Linked DNA regions of Homo sapiens: region 2 is linked to region 1. Evidence: promoter capture Hi-C in human tissues and cell types (Jung and others, 2019). All regions are on one chromosome and are shown on one strand. Each heading gives the region's core, a stretch centred on a gene start or on the middle of the fragment in contact. The rest is flanking DNA. Distances are from core to core; before and after follow the strand shown. Region 1 holds the start of EPC2 (enhancer of polycomb 2). Region 2 overlaps KIF5C (kinesin family member 5C).

Region 1 (6,681 bases), core at 2,184-4,683:
ATTAACTTTCAAATGGTTTTGCTGAAACCAGGAGCCAATTAGAAAGAACGTGACATTTGCAAAACTCTGAAATAGTTGAATAGCAACTGTGTTTACTAGTTTTAAGATTCCTTTCAAAAAGTAATTTGTCCATTATTTGGAAGCTGCCTGCCTTGATTATAGTACTGGGAGATGGACACTGGAATGTAATCCTAATTCTAACAGTTATTTGACATTTATTCTAATTTAGACTACATTTAGACAGTGATTTTATTTTGATATGGCTTTAAACTGGTTTTAATTCTTGGGTGCTTATATATTATGCTTGCTGGGCTAAATGCATGTCATTTGGAATTGGTCTAGAGCATATCTGAAGTGGACTGATTTTAGAATGACTATACTTAGCGCATTGTATGTGGAAATTAAAATAGGCTATTAGGCTGCACACCCATTTGAGGCAGGTCTTGATAAAAATATTTCATGAGAGAATTTTTTATTTTATAAGAAGATATTTTTTGCTTTTAGCACTAACAATTATATGAGTATTCAACAAATCAATCAGAAATAAACTTTATGAAAAGTAATATTTATATACAAATAAAAGTTACTTTCCAAAAGTGAACAGTGGCATTCCGGTTTGGGCACTGAATTGGAAGCCAAGAAAACACAGGCTGTGTCTCCGTTGAAAAGTATATTGTGTTATTTGCCTTAAATGGTTTTATTCCCAGCTCTATAATCATTGCCTACAGGGTGAGAAGAAAATGGAGATTTGGGGAAGAAATCTTTTACATGGTCAAAGTAAAAGAACAACAAAGAAACAACCACAACAGCAAAAATCCCTTCCTATAAATTCCAGGTTTCAAAAAGGTGTTTTTGAATAACATTAATTGGTTCTAAAATCTCTATGCACAAAGGTACAAAGCTGGACAACAGGGTAGGCCACAGTAAGAACAAATATTGGCAGCAATAGCTAGGTCAGGTGACAGGCCAGTGAGGTATGTGAACTATAAACTAGAGTGGCATGGGGTCAGTATCAGTGAATTTCTTCATGGAATATCAGTCAACAAATATACTTTAGATGCCTGCCATATGTGAGGCATGGAACTGGGGATACAGTGATTGACAGACAGATGTTGTTCCTGCCCTCCTTGGTCTACTGCAACTTTAGGCTCTGGCTTATGCGCTCCCTTGGCCGTTGGTTGGAAGGTCTTAGTAACTAATTTTGAATTAGCAGCTTTAGAATGCTGACTGGTCAATAAGCTGAAGAGCTTGGATAGCAGGGTAGCACCACTGAGAAAACCAGAGTTTTGGAGTCAGGTCAGACCTGAATTTGAGCCCAGTTCTGCAAGTTGTTGGAATTGAAATTTGGCAAATTATCTGATGCTCAGTTTTCTTATTGGTAAAATTATATTTTTTCATAAAATTATAATAAGAATTAAGTGGAATTCAACTAGTTGAGATAATATATATAACATGTTACTACAATGGATGGTATATTACACATACTTGATATTTCCTTTTCTGAGAGAAACAGTAAAACTAAACATAGGGACTAGAAGAAAGCTATCCTTTCTGAACCTGAGGAGGGCTGGGCATCCAGATGAAAGCTCTGGATGACTCATTTCTTCAACTATTGCTTTTTTCTTCCCTTTCAGGCTTGAACCCAGTGCTGACCCCCTCCCAAGAACTTCTTGTTCTTGCTTCCAGAGGATTGGAACTGTTCCAGGGGTAGCACTTAGAGAGCAGGACATGCCCATAAGCTTGAGGAAGGTACTGCTTACAAGAAATGAGTCACAGCAACTCCATTGCTTCCAACAACAAAGTGGATGAAAAACACTCAAGCCCCACTAAACAATACTCGGAGTTTTGCTGCGACAGACTGGTTAGACTATTTGGACACTACCATGAAGACTATATCCACCATTCTGCCTTCAAAGGAGGAGACTGCAGAGAGAAAAGGGGAAGAGGAACAGGAGGAAAAAGGGGGAGGGGAGGAAGTGGAGGAGGGGAAGAAGGACGTAATAGAGGAAGAGATATAGTTTTATTGTCACATAGAAATGACAGTAGGAATCAATTTTTTCACTGTTGGTCTTTAGGAAATCATCTGACTTTCTCTGAGTTAGAGTATGATCGATTATTAGAAAATGGTAAAATGTGTTAAAAACTCTCTTTGTACGGTTTTGTGAGAAATGTGTAATGCTTAAAGACTAACCAAGAGCCTCTTGGCTAAACCAGGTTGATGTCAACAATAGCTAGTACTTATTTGAGTCACCTTGATTTTCCCTCCTCTTGAGAACTTTCTCTAACCAGTTTAGGCTGCAGTCATGCCTCCTTTCCTTTCTCTGAACTCTCACAATTATTGCCTAGATCTCGTTTGGTAATTAATCATGTGCTACTTACTGCCTGTGTCATCTCTTGTATTGTTTTCTTAAAATATTTACACTTTTTTTTCGGTTGTCACTTATCTTTCCAGCTGTCATTTTCTTCAACTATTTACGTCTCTGTTACTCATCTTTCCAGCCATCCTGGCATCCCATTAAGGTGAAAGCTCTCTGAGGCAGGAACCTTTTCTCAGATTTCTTCGAGTCTTCCACAGCACCCCACATTTGACACACATCTGCTACTTCGCAAATGTGTGCTGCCTTGGCTAAATTTTTAGAAGCTGAACTTTTAGGAAAGCTACTATTTTTGAACTCAGAAAAATACCTACCATCCACTAAACAGCTGTACCGAAGTTTGGGTGACAGGGAACCTAAGTTCACTTGTTGCATCTGGCAGCCTCAAACCATGAACCCTCACTGCAAAGCGAGGATGAACGCGCTGCTGCACCTTGGAGAGCTCTTTCGGACAGGTACGGAGGGGAGGGCGTAGAAGAGGGCTGGCACCAGCAGCGCGGTCCAGTCCTCCGAACGGACTGATGGGACTGATGGGAGAGACCTCTTGCACCTCTCGGGGATGTGCGCCTCGGAGGATGCGAATTAGCTTGCGCACAGGGCGCCTTGGGGATAGCGCTGTCCAAGTACAGGCTTGGGTGATGGCTGGTGGGGTCCGGGTCGACATTTTCCCTTCCCGCTCCCGGACTTCTGCACACACGCGCTGCTCGGCGCAGCCGTCTTTGCCCGGCGCCTTCCTCCGGGACACCCAGCGAGAGGGGTGACCGGGCGGCGGCGGGAGAGGCGCACGCTCCCGGGCGCGGGCGAACTTGCGCACCTGGCACCTGCCACACAGCGAAAGCACCGGCCAGCGAGCGGAGGGGCGCCGCCCCCGCCCCCTCTCCCCGGAGCGGACCGAGACCGAGCACGCTCCCGCGGGCCGGCAGCGCCGCGGAGAGAGTGGGTGGGCAGGCGAGGGAGGGGAAGGGAGAGGAAGGAGGGAGGGAGGGAGAGGGCGAGGCGCGTTCCCGCGACGGGGGCGCGCTCTCGCGCGGGCTGCCGGGATCGCTCGCCGCCGCTGTGGTAATGTCCGCCATGTTGGCCATGGCGCAGGGAGCGGATCGGGCGGGCGAGCGGCGGATCTAGTGTGTGGAGGCGGCCGCGGGCGCGGGGGGCTGTTTTCGGGCGGGGTGGGCGCCCATGCTGTGGCCGGGGGCAGTGAGGAGGAGGAGGAGCGGGCCGGCCGCGCTGCACTGAGGAAGGAGGTGGAGGAGGCGGCGGGAGTCCTCCCCCCCTCCCCGCCCGCCCCGCCGCCGCCGCCCGGGCTGTTCCTGTAAGGCGGGGAGACAATGAGTAAACTCTCCTTCCGAGCGCGGGCGCTGGACGCCGCCAAGCCGCTGCCTATCTACCGCGGCAAGGACATGCCTGATCTCAACGACTGCGTCTCCATCAACCGGGCCGTGCCCCAGATGCCCACCGGGATGGAGAAGGAGGAGGAATCGGTAGGGACTCGAGTGTTTATTACCCCCCCTTCCCTCCTCCCCCCTCCCCTTTGTCAGTCGGGCCTCGCCATTCACAGAGCGCTTTACGCTCGCTGGAGGGCGCCGCTGCCGCTCTAACGCACGGGACTCTACGCCGGCGGAGTAGCGTAAACCCTCTCGGCCGGCGTAGCGCCCGCCCGCGGCCGCCATGTTGTTGCGTCCCAGTGTTGTGATTAGCTCGCAGCGCTGCTTACGCTGCCGTAAGGGGGCCTTGCCGTAAGCGGCGGCCGGGAATGGCGCAGGGGATGCGCTGGCCGCTCTTGGCGTACGGTCTCTGTTTACCTTTCCACCTCCCTCTCTCAGGCGCGGGGCTAATTAATGGCGTGGTATTATTTGGCTAGGCAAGATTATTATTTTTTCCACTTTTAACTTTGGCTTTGTATTGAGTTCTCTTTGAAATGACTGTGGAAGGGTGCTTTCAAAACAAACATCTTCCTCCCAGCAATGTAATCATCCTGGCTCCCCCGCCCGCGAAGGTGCAGCGGGATGAGGCGGTGCAGCACTGCGGCGGGGGAGGGCGGGGGCCACGACTACCGAGCGGGTCGTAGCGTCCGAGGGCCGCCCGCCGGCCAGTTCTGCCGACCCGAGCCGGGCGCGGGGCGGACGGGCTCTGCCTGCTCCGCCTGGACGGCCGTGCTCCGTGCGCAACGTTAGAGAGGAGCCGGGGATGCCCGGAAGCGAGCCGCCGGCGTTGCGTTGTCCTCGAGAATTGTCATTGCGAGGTGGTCCTTAGAAGTTGAGGACCTAGTGCATCTAAATTGGCAGTTGTAATTTTGATAATACAGCACCTTTTGGGAAAATTGCTGCTTTTCCTCCGATGGGTTAAATTTTGCAGACGGTTGGATTTCATCTGGCTTGACAGAGAGTGTTTATGACTCGAGTGGTGTTACTTGCGTGCGAAGTTCATAGTAACTGCACCCTCAAGAATTTCTTCAATGAACCTACAGTCCCGCCTTATTGTCAACCTCGGGTGTGTGTGGATTGGTTCTCTTGCTTCAGTGACTGTCAAAAGGAAGCTCGAGGTTTCAGTGATTGGTTTTCTCTTTTGACTATTAATATTGCAGGAAATGCTTTTATGCCTTCGATTGGCTGGTTGAGTTCTGACCTCATTATGTTACCCTGTTAATACTACTTTGCTCTTATTTAATCACATTTCTCTTTGATGTATAGTTACTTGAAAGTCTTACATTTTCAGTAGAAAATGCATATGGCCGTAGCATCGGGATGAACTTAACTGTGTGTGTACACACACAAATATGTAATAGATATATATACACGCACATACACATATATATTTGTGTGTGCATATATATAAATATGTTTATAATCAAAACCCAGCATTTATCCCTAAGGTTTAGAGCTGTGAGAACTTTTTTTTTTGTATGTGAGAACTTTTTTTTTTAATTTGTTTCTAACGACTCAGTTTTCCATGGGAAGGAAAATTAAAATAAAATCATATTATATACAATAGTTAATTACATTGAACCCTAATAAGCACAACTTTGGATATTTTTGCTATTTTGTGGGTCTTGATCCAAAGAAAGATGGCCTTAAAAGTACCAGTATTGTGTGTAATTACTTTGATCCTATTATTTTAGAACTTGAGTCAAATCTGTTCTAGGCCGGGCACGGTGGGTCACGCCTGTAATCCCAGCACTTTGGAAGGCCGAGGTGGGCGGATCATGAGGTCAGGAGTTCGAGACCAGCCTGGCCAGTATGGTGAAACTCCGTCTCCACTAAAAATACAAAAATTAGCCGGGCCTGGTGGTGCGCGCCTGTAATACCAGCTACTCGGGAGGCTGAGGCAGAAGAATTGCTTGAACCCGGGAGAAAGAGGTTGCAGTGAGCAGAGATCGTGCCACTGCACTCCAGCCTGGGGGACAGAGCGAGACTCCGTCCCCCCCAACAACAAAAAAAAGGAAATCTGTTCTAGAGTGAACAGTTAACTCCTGGAAGGTATATTACTTTTTGCAATCACCAACATACGTGGTCCTTAGTATGCCACATATGTTTTGGTATTTTAATTTAGTAAGATAACTTAGAGTAATTTTTTCATGCTTCATTAAAAATAAAAGTGCTTAACTCGTGTTGCAATTTTTTGTTTATTTGTTTTTTGAGATGGAGTTTAGCTCTTGTCGCCCAGGCTTGATTGCAATGGCGCGATCTCGGCTCACTGCAACCTCCGCCTACCAGGTTCAGGTGATTTTCCTGCCTCAGCCTCCCGAGCAGCTGAGATTATAGGCGCCCACTACCTCGCCCAGCTAATTTTTGTATTTTTAGTAGAGTCGGGGTTTCACCATATTGGCCAGGCTGGTCTCAGACTCCTGACCTCAGGTGATCACCCGCCTCGGCCTCCCAAATTTCTGGGATTACAGGTGTGAGCCACTGCGCCTGGCCGCGCCTTGCAGACTTTTTTTTTTTTTTTTTTTTTTTTTTTAATTTATTACCGAGTCTAGCTCTGTCGCCAGGCTGGAGTGCAGTGGCGCGATCTCAGCTCACTGCAACCTTCGCCTCCCGGGTTCAAGTGATTCTCCTGCCTCAGCCTCTCAAGTAGTTGGGACTACAGGCACGTGCCACTATGCCCAGCTAATTTTTGTATTTTTAGTAGAGACGAGGTTTCACCGTGTTGGCCAAAATGATTTCGATCTCTTGACTCTTGCTCCACCTGCCTCGGCCTCCCGAAGTGCTGGGATTGCAGGCGTGAGCCACCGTGCCCTGCCGCGCCTTGCAATTTTTTTATTAGCTCTTTTAGAAAGAATTATTTTCAAACTAGAGCATGAGTGCTAAAC
Region 2 (6,681 bases), core at 1,617-4,116, 260 kb after region 1:
ACTGCTACTCGCCATAAAATGTGATGAATAATGTATGTATGTGCTAGAGGTATACAGATTGAAGTGAAGACTTGAACCTTCTTAGCACACACCAGAATTATAGCTTGTCAAGAGCAAGAGATTTATTTTCCCAAACAATTAGAGGACACCAGTAATTATGTTTAATTACATGTTGAATGGTTTTCCTGTTGTGTCAACCCCATTGTCTTAATTGTGCTTAAGAGCAGCAGGCTATTATTTTGAGGTTTGTGAAGTTTAAAATTGCTGTGTCTCAGCATCGGGGGAGCACAAGCGTTAAGAGCACAGGCTCTGGCATCAGACGATCTGCAAATCCTGGATCTGCCACTTACAATAGATCCTTGGCAAGTTCCTTAACTTCTCTAATGGTTCCTCGTACTGGGAATAATAACAGCATCGATCTCACGAGTGTATTGTGAAGATTGAACAGCACATATATGAGGAGTGTCGTGCTGCGTTTGGCATGTAAACCTTTCAGATGTTGGCTATCATATTATTTATTATTATGGATTAGGCGTTGATGGTGGGCAGTCTCTGACATGTTCCAGGATCCAACCCTGATGGATAGAGCCATCTGGGGTAGATCTGGGCTCCAGCTTGGATGGATTGCTGCTGTTTGGTACTAGTTTTGACATTTAGGGTGTTTGTTGTCTATCTTGTTTCTAGTTTATGTCTGTAATCTCATTTTCTAAAAGCATGTGGAATGGAGCTAAGAAATACGGCAACCATTGAAAAAGTTACAATTGTTAAGTCCTCTGAAGAGAGTCACAGAGGAAGGAGAACTAACTCTAGTATTTAGTAGGAAAATTATCTTTGTAGTTGATAATTTTAGGCAGTACACAGCAGACATGGGCTTAGATAACATTGAATCAGGTAGTGGAAAGTTATTTTCATTTTATTCCTCTTTCAGCCCTTCTGAATCTACCAAAGACAAAGCTTCAGTTTGGTGCTAGTGTTTAATCTCTAATACTTTGGAATTTCCCTCTTAATAAAAGGAAAGAACAGGTCCTAGGCTTGGAGTCCTTGACATGCAATGTTTCTAGCTAGAGCTCATTAGTATTGCTTTGTTTTCATTGTATCTCTTTTTATTGCCTTCTGTTTATAGCATGTAATACTGATTTTTCACTTACAACAGTAATATAAAAGTTTCATTGAAAGTATATTTAAGGAAAAATAAGTTAATTAAAAAAATATTAAATTAAAGGTAGAGTGGATGGTACATGGTTATGACAAAAATTGTGATGGTGCCACCCAAATCCCTGAGTTAGGACACATTGGTTTAGAGAGGAAAAAAAGCACAAAAACTTAATGCTAGGGAAGGCCAATATTTAAAAAGAGAAATTAAAGAAGTTGGAGAAATTAAAGAAGGGGAGAAATCATTGCAGAAGTGGGAGGGGCAGATGCTTGGAGAGGGTGATAAAGGGATGGCAAAGGAGAGGCATTGGTTTGCTAAGGGGACAGCTGTGGGTGCCTTTGCTGCTTCCCATTTAGCAAAAAGACTGGCATAATGAGAAGTGAGAGGAAGGATGCTGGGAGTGTGTGCTACTTATTTCCAAAAAGCTTAGTGTGTGGTGATAGCACAGTGAGTTGAGGTAGAAGCAAGGTCGATGGCAGGTTTTTTGCTTTTAAGGATAGCACACATGTAGTCATGCTTTTAGCTAATGGAGGAAGCCTACGAGAAGGGAGAGATGGAGCCAGGGTCAAGGAGTGGGAGGATGGTATATTAGTCCACTTTCACACTGCTGAAAAAGACATGCCCGAGACTGGGTAATTTATAAAGAAAAAGAGGTTTAATGGACTTACAGTTCTGCATGGCTGGGGAGGCCTCGCAATCATGGTGGAAGGTGAAAGGCATGTCTTACACGATGGCAGGCCAAAAAAGAGAGCTTGTGCAGGGAAACTCCTCTCTGTAAACCCATCAGATCTTGTGAGACTTATTCACTGTCATGAGAACAGCACAGGAAAGACCCACCCCATGATTCAATTACCTCCCACAGGGTACCCCCATGACATGTGGGAATTATCGGAGCTACAATTCAAGATGAAATTTGGGTGGGGACACAGCCAAACCATATCAGATGGGTTTACCTAGGAGGGAGGGGAGAGAGAGTGAGACTCCCTTGGGGCCAGAGGGAAAAAGGGGAGGCAGAGGAAAGGGAAGGGAAGCTGCGTCTTCTCTTGCCAGTAAATTCAGCAAGTACATTTTAGCCAATTCGTGATGTCTAAATAATTCAGCAGAAAAAGAGGGTGAGGCGCAAGTATGAGTGCCTGGAGGGAACCAGGCTGTGAAAGTGGAGACTGAGGAATCTCAGGAAATACTGACTCATTGATCATAAGGAAGTCCCATGGGAGGGAGATGCCACAGTTGGCATCTAAGTAACTGATGTGCTTTACTGGAGGAAAGGCTTGGAGCTCAGGGCCTGACAGTGCTAGAAAACTGAGCAGGAGGACACAGTAGCTCATGCCTGTAATCGCAGCTAAGGTGGGAGTATTGCTTGAGCCCAGGACTTTGAGACCAGCCTGGGCAACATAGTGAGAACCCCATCTCTAAAAATAAAATAAAATAAAAATAATGAAGTCAGGCATGCTGGTGCATGTCTGTAATTCCAGCACTTTGGGAGGCTGAGGTGGGAGGATCGCTTGAGCTCAGGGGTTCGAGACCAGCCTGGGCAATGTGGTGAAACCCTGTGTCTACAAAAAATACAAAAATTACCTGGGTGTGGTGGTGCATGCCTGTAGTCCCAGCTCCTCAGTGGGGCTGAGGTGGGAGGATTGCTTGAGCCCAGGGGGTTGAGGCTATAGTGAGCTGAGATCATACCACTGCACTCCAGCCTGGGCGACAGAGCAAGACCCTGCCTCAAAATAAATAGATAAATTAATTAATTAAATTAAAATTAAAAGAATTAGCTGGGTGTGGTGGCATGTGTTTTGTAGTCCTAGCTACTCAGGATGCTGAGGTGGAAGGATCACTTGAGTCCAGAAGTTTGAGACTACAGTGAACTATGATCATTCAACTGCACTCCATCCTGGGCAACAGAGCAAGAATCCTGTCTCTAAAAACAGAAAAGAAAGAAAAAGAAAAAACTGAGAAGGACAATGAAGGTGGCAGCTGCTTTTCAGACCCAATCCAAGGGATTGGTCCAATGCTACCTGTTTTGGTCCCTCTTTGCTGCTGTCCTGTGAAGCTTCTTTAATTAAGAAAACACTGAGAGAGAGCAGTCCCCTGACAGTGGCTGACTGGCCATGTGGGGGGAAGTGACGTCACCTCCACCTGTGTCACAAGGACCGCCTCCTTGAGGATATGGCCTGTGAAGGACAGCCTGCAGTTACTTCAACTCTCCATTGTGAAGCACATGGGCTCCAGACGCAGTGGCATTAATGCACCCAGGTGTGGATTTATGGCCATGGAAAGGGCCCAGCACACTGCATGACCAGCTGCAAGCTTTGTGCATTAACCCAGGAGGCTGAAGTCTCTTCTGATCTTGCTCCCTGTAACCATATGTCCCTTAGATTTTATTCCTGGGTATATTGGATCATGGAGCTTGTGGGAGCAGAGCCATTTGCAGCAAATCTAATCTAGGAAGAAAAGGGAAGTCATTTTCAGCATATGGCTCCAAGCCTAGTGCTTCCTGACCTGAAATCCAGCCTGTGGGCATCAGGGGAAGAGTGGGAAGGAGGAGGTGAGGCGAGAGCATGTCTGAGTAGCTGACTGATGTGGAGCCAGCCTTTGTGGCCGAGGTGGCCCTGAAGGAAGGTGAGGGGCAGGGAGAAGAGAGTACCTACGTGTCCCTGACTCCTGCCTGACTCTGTGGCTCAGGGGCAGTCAAAGTGGTTAGCGACCCGGGACATACCCGGGACAGTCAACTGGGGCCGCCCAGCAGGCTGTCCAGAGTAAAAGCAATTCCCAGTCATTGGGGTCATCTGGAGATCTATGTTAGAGTCTCCAGACTGGGAGCCCCTGCTGTAGTCCTCGGGCTGTTCCTGTCTCAAATCTGTCCAGCCACTCGGTTGCTTTTGTCACTATTTATGTGAAAAGTTTTGGCTAGCCTGGATTTTCTTTTGTTTCAGCATTGCCCACAAACACCAATGTGGAATTAATCTGGAAAAGGCATCCCAATCTTTACCAGAGTTGAAAGTTGACCTTTTCAGGCAGCTCATATGATTACTTTTAGAAGCACTGTCAACATGCATTTTCCAAAGAAATGCATCAGAGACAGACTAGGTAGGTGAGTCCTGCCTCCCTCCCAGCAAGATCCCACAGTCTGCACATTCTTTATCTCTGTCTTCACCTGCCAGGCTGAGGGTGAAGGCCTTTTCTTCTACCATTAGGGATGATGGAGAACAGCTCTCTCCGTTTATTTAAAAAATATCCTGAATATGCTTTAATTAATCACTCTCAAAGATTTCTCTCCTCCAGACAAAATAAACCTAGGTTCATCCACTCTTGTTTGTTATTTCTAACCCTTTGGTCACCTTAAAGGGCCACCCTGACCTTAGCGTAGTAGGAGAGGGGTTATGGACATGGGCTCTTGTTCTATCCCATTCTTACTGGGTGGCCTTGTGCAAGTCATGTGGCCACTGCAGCCTCAGTTTCTCCAGTATTACCTACACCATGGGGTCATCCGAGGATTCAGTGAGACAGTTTCTCTAGCATGCTCCCCATTGTACCTGCTTTTAGCAGCCAGTAAATACTCTCTGTTACTCTCATTCCCCACTTTGCACTTAGAATCAGTCATAACTGTTTAGTGAGGTACTGATTAGCACTGCTAATATTCTGAATGCTTGCTTAAAATAGAAAAGAGTTACTTTCTATGAGACTTTGCATTTTTTAAAGCTGATTCTTTTTTAAAAAAATTAGACATCACTCTTACAGAATAATAAGATGGAATGAATCCGTGATGTTATCTACATGATGAGGCCAGTATGGCACAAAAGCAGTGAAGTCCCTGAAAATACCAGCCAAATTTCACCTGAGCATATATTATAGAGCTTTAAAGTACCTAGAAGAGAAAAACCGCTTCTTTCCCAGCTTCTTTGCCTCCCAGGCACCACATCACCACAGAGCAGCCAAAACAGAAACCAGATCAGGCCATTCATTTGCTTCAAGGTACGTTACACATGTATGTGCTACCGGGCTTTGCAGCACTGGGCTCTGCCTGGCTCTTCCCCCATCACCCCATTGTACCATTCTGCTCCTTGCTCTCTTCAAATACATCAGCCCACTTTCCAGCAGACCACGTGCTTCCCAGCTCAAGGTTTCACGCTTTTGGTCACCTCTGCCTGCAGTGCCCTGCCGCTGCTCTTCCCGCTGCTGGCAAGCCTCCAGGCTTCTGCTCTGAGGTCACATCCTGGGAGCCATCCTCCTTGACCCGCATATCACAACACTCAGAGGAGTCATCTTTGTTTTGATTGGTTGTTTATTGCTTGTCTCTCTCCACTCCCTCAGAATGAAAGCTTCGTAAAGACAAGGAAACTTGTGGCTCATCCCTGCTGGGTTCCCAGTGTTTTTGAACAGTACTTGGCACATGGAGGATTCTCAGTCAATATCTGTTGAATAAAGCAGTAAGACGAGAAACCCTAAATTTGTAAAACTGTAAGAAAGATGTTTAGTTGTGTGGGGCAGAGGGCTGATTATGCCAGTGTTCATGAGGATGTGGTAATTAATGCTGAGCAGAGTCTGAAAGAGAGCTCTCAGCACTATGGCTATAAGAAGGAAAATAACGTTTCTCTGCTCACAAGAGATGGGAATCACCTCAGTTGCAGAAATTTTAGATTTTGGTGGTTCTAGGTGAATTGGATATCTGTGATCGAGAGTCTTTAATGGTGGGAAATCATGAGCTCTGAAATCAGACCCTCCTGCCTCTCCTACTTATCGCTGTGCGACTATTATGTGTTGTCTCTGAACTCTGATTTCTCCATCTGTAAAATGGATATTATAATGCTAACCTTGGAGCACTGCTGTGGAGATTCATGGTAGTCTCTGCCTGGCACTTGGACCTGTTCAATAAGTGGCAGCTTTAATTTTGGAGTAAAATTTTAAAAATTCTATTAATTCAAAATGTGACATGAAAAATCCAATTTAATTAAACAGCTATTAATGTAAGCACTTTTAATACTTATCATAAATGCTGCAGGGAATCCAAAGATGGGTAAGATAGAAAACATGTCCTTAAATAACTAAAAATCTATAAAAGGGTAAGATAAGTTATAATGTTAATAACATATGTGCAATTTGTAATTTGCAATTTGTAAAGTAATTTTATATGCCTTTTATTATTTGTTCTCACAACTACCATGTGAAGCCAATGTAATACGTGCTTTGTGACCCTGTGCAAGCCATGGACATCTCTGAACCTGACCTTGTCACTTGTAAAATGAAGAGTGGCAATTACATTAAAGAATAGTTGTCAGCAATCTATGTTATGCCCCAGGTAAAACATAGGGTCTAGCATACAAGAGTCAGTCAAATATATTAGCCCTCTCTCACCCCAGTCTCTAACTCTGGATCCTGCATTTTTTCCATGACATGGTGCTTCCAGAGGAATGGGTAGTGTTTTGACAGATAACACGGTCAAATCATTGAGATGGCATTCTAGTTAGAGGGAATCGTCAGAGCAGTGAGGTCCAGTAGAGAAGGACATTCCTGTGGGGATTGGTAGGTCT

The links. Contacts are between HindIII fragments. The study calls those that stand out against the background at their distance.
Region 2: a contact is called between a fragment that was not itself captured here and the fragment with the promoter of EPC2 in region 1, in 1 of the 25 tissues and cell types used here (dorsolateral prefrontal cortex).

Annotation. Positions count from the first base shown.
Region 1 is chr2:148,641,318-148,647,998 of GRCh38, forward strand. It overlaps EPC2 (enhancer of polycomb 2), which reads left to right and starts at 3,434. Exons shown (of 14, transcript NM_015630.4): 1 at 3,434-3,853. The coding sequence starts at 3,701. RefSeq lists silencers at 3,088-3,667, 4,428-4,517 and enhancers at 3,507-4,011, 4,608-4,757. The HindIII fragment of the contact is 15,800 bases long and covers 834-6,681 here.
Region 2 is chr2:148,903,989-148,910,669 of GRCh38, forward strand. All of the region lies in intron 1 of KIF5C (kinesin family member 5C), which reads left to right. It overlaps LOC101928553 (a long non-coding RNA gene), which reads right to left. Exons shown (of 2, transcript NR_187659.1): 2 at 5,418-5,565. Among named protein-coding and RNA genes, the nearest start is that of KIF5C-AS1, 12 kb to the left of the region's middle. RefSeq lists a silencer at 5,192-5,486. The HindIII fragment of the contact is 3,200 bases long and covers 1,267-4,466 here.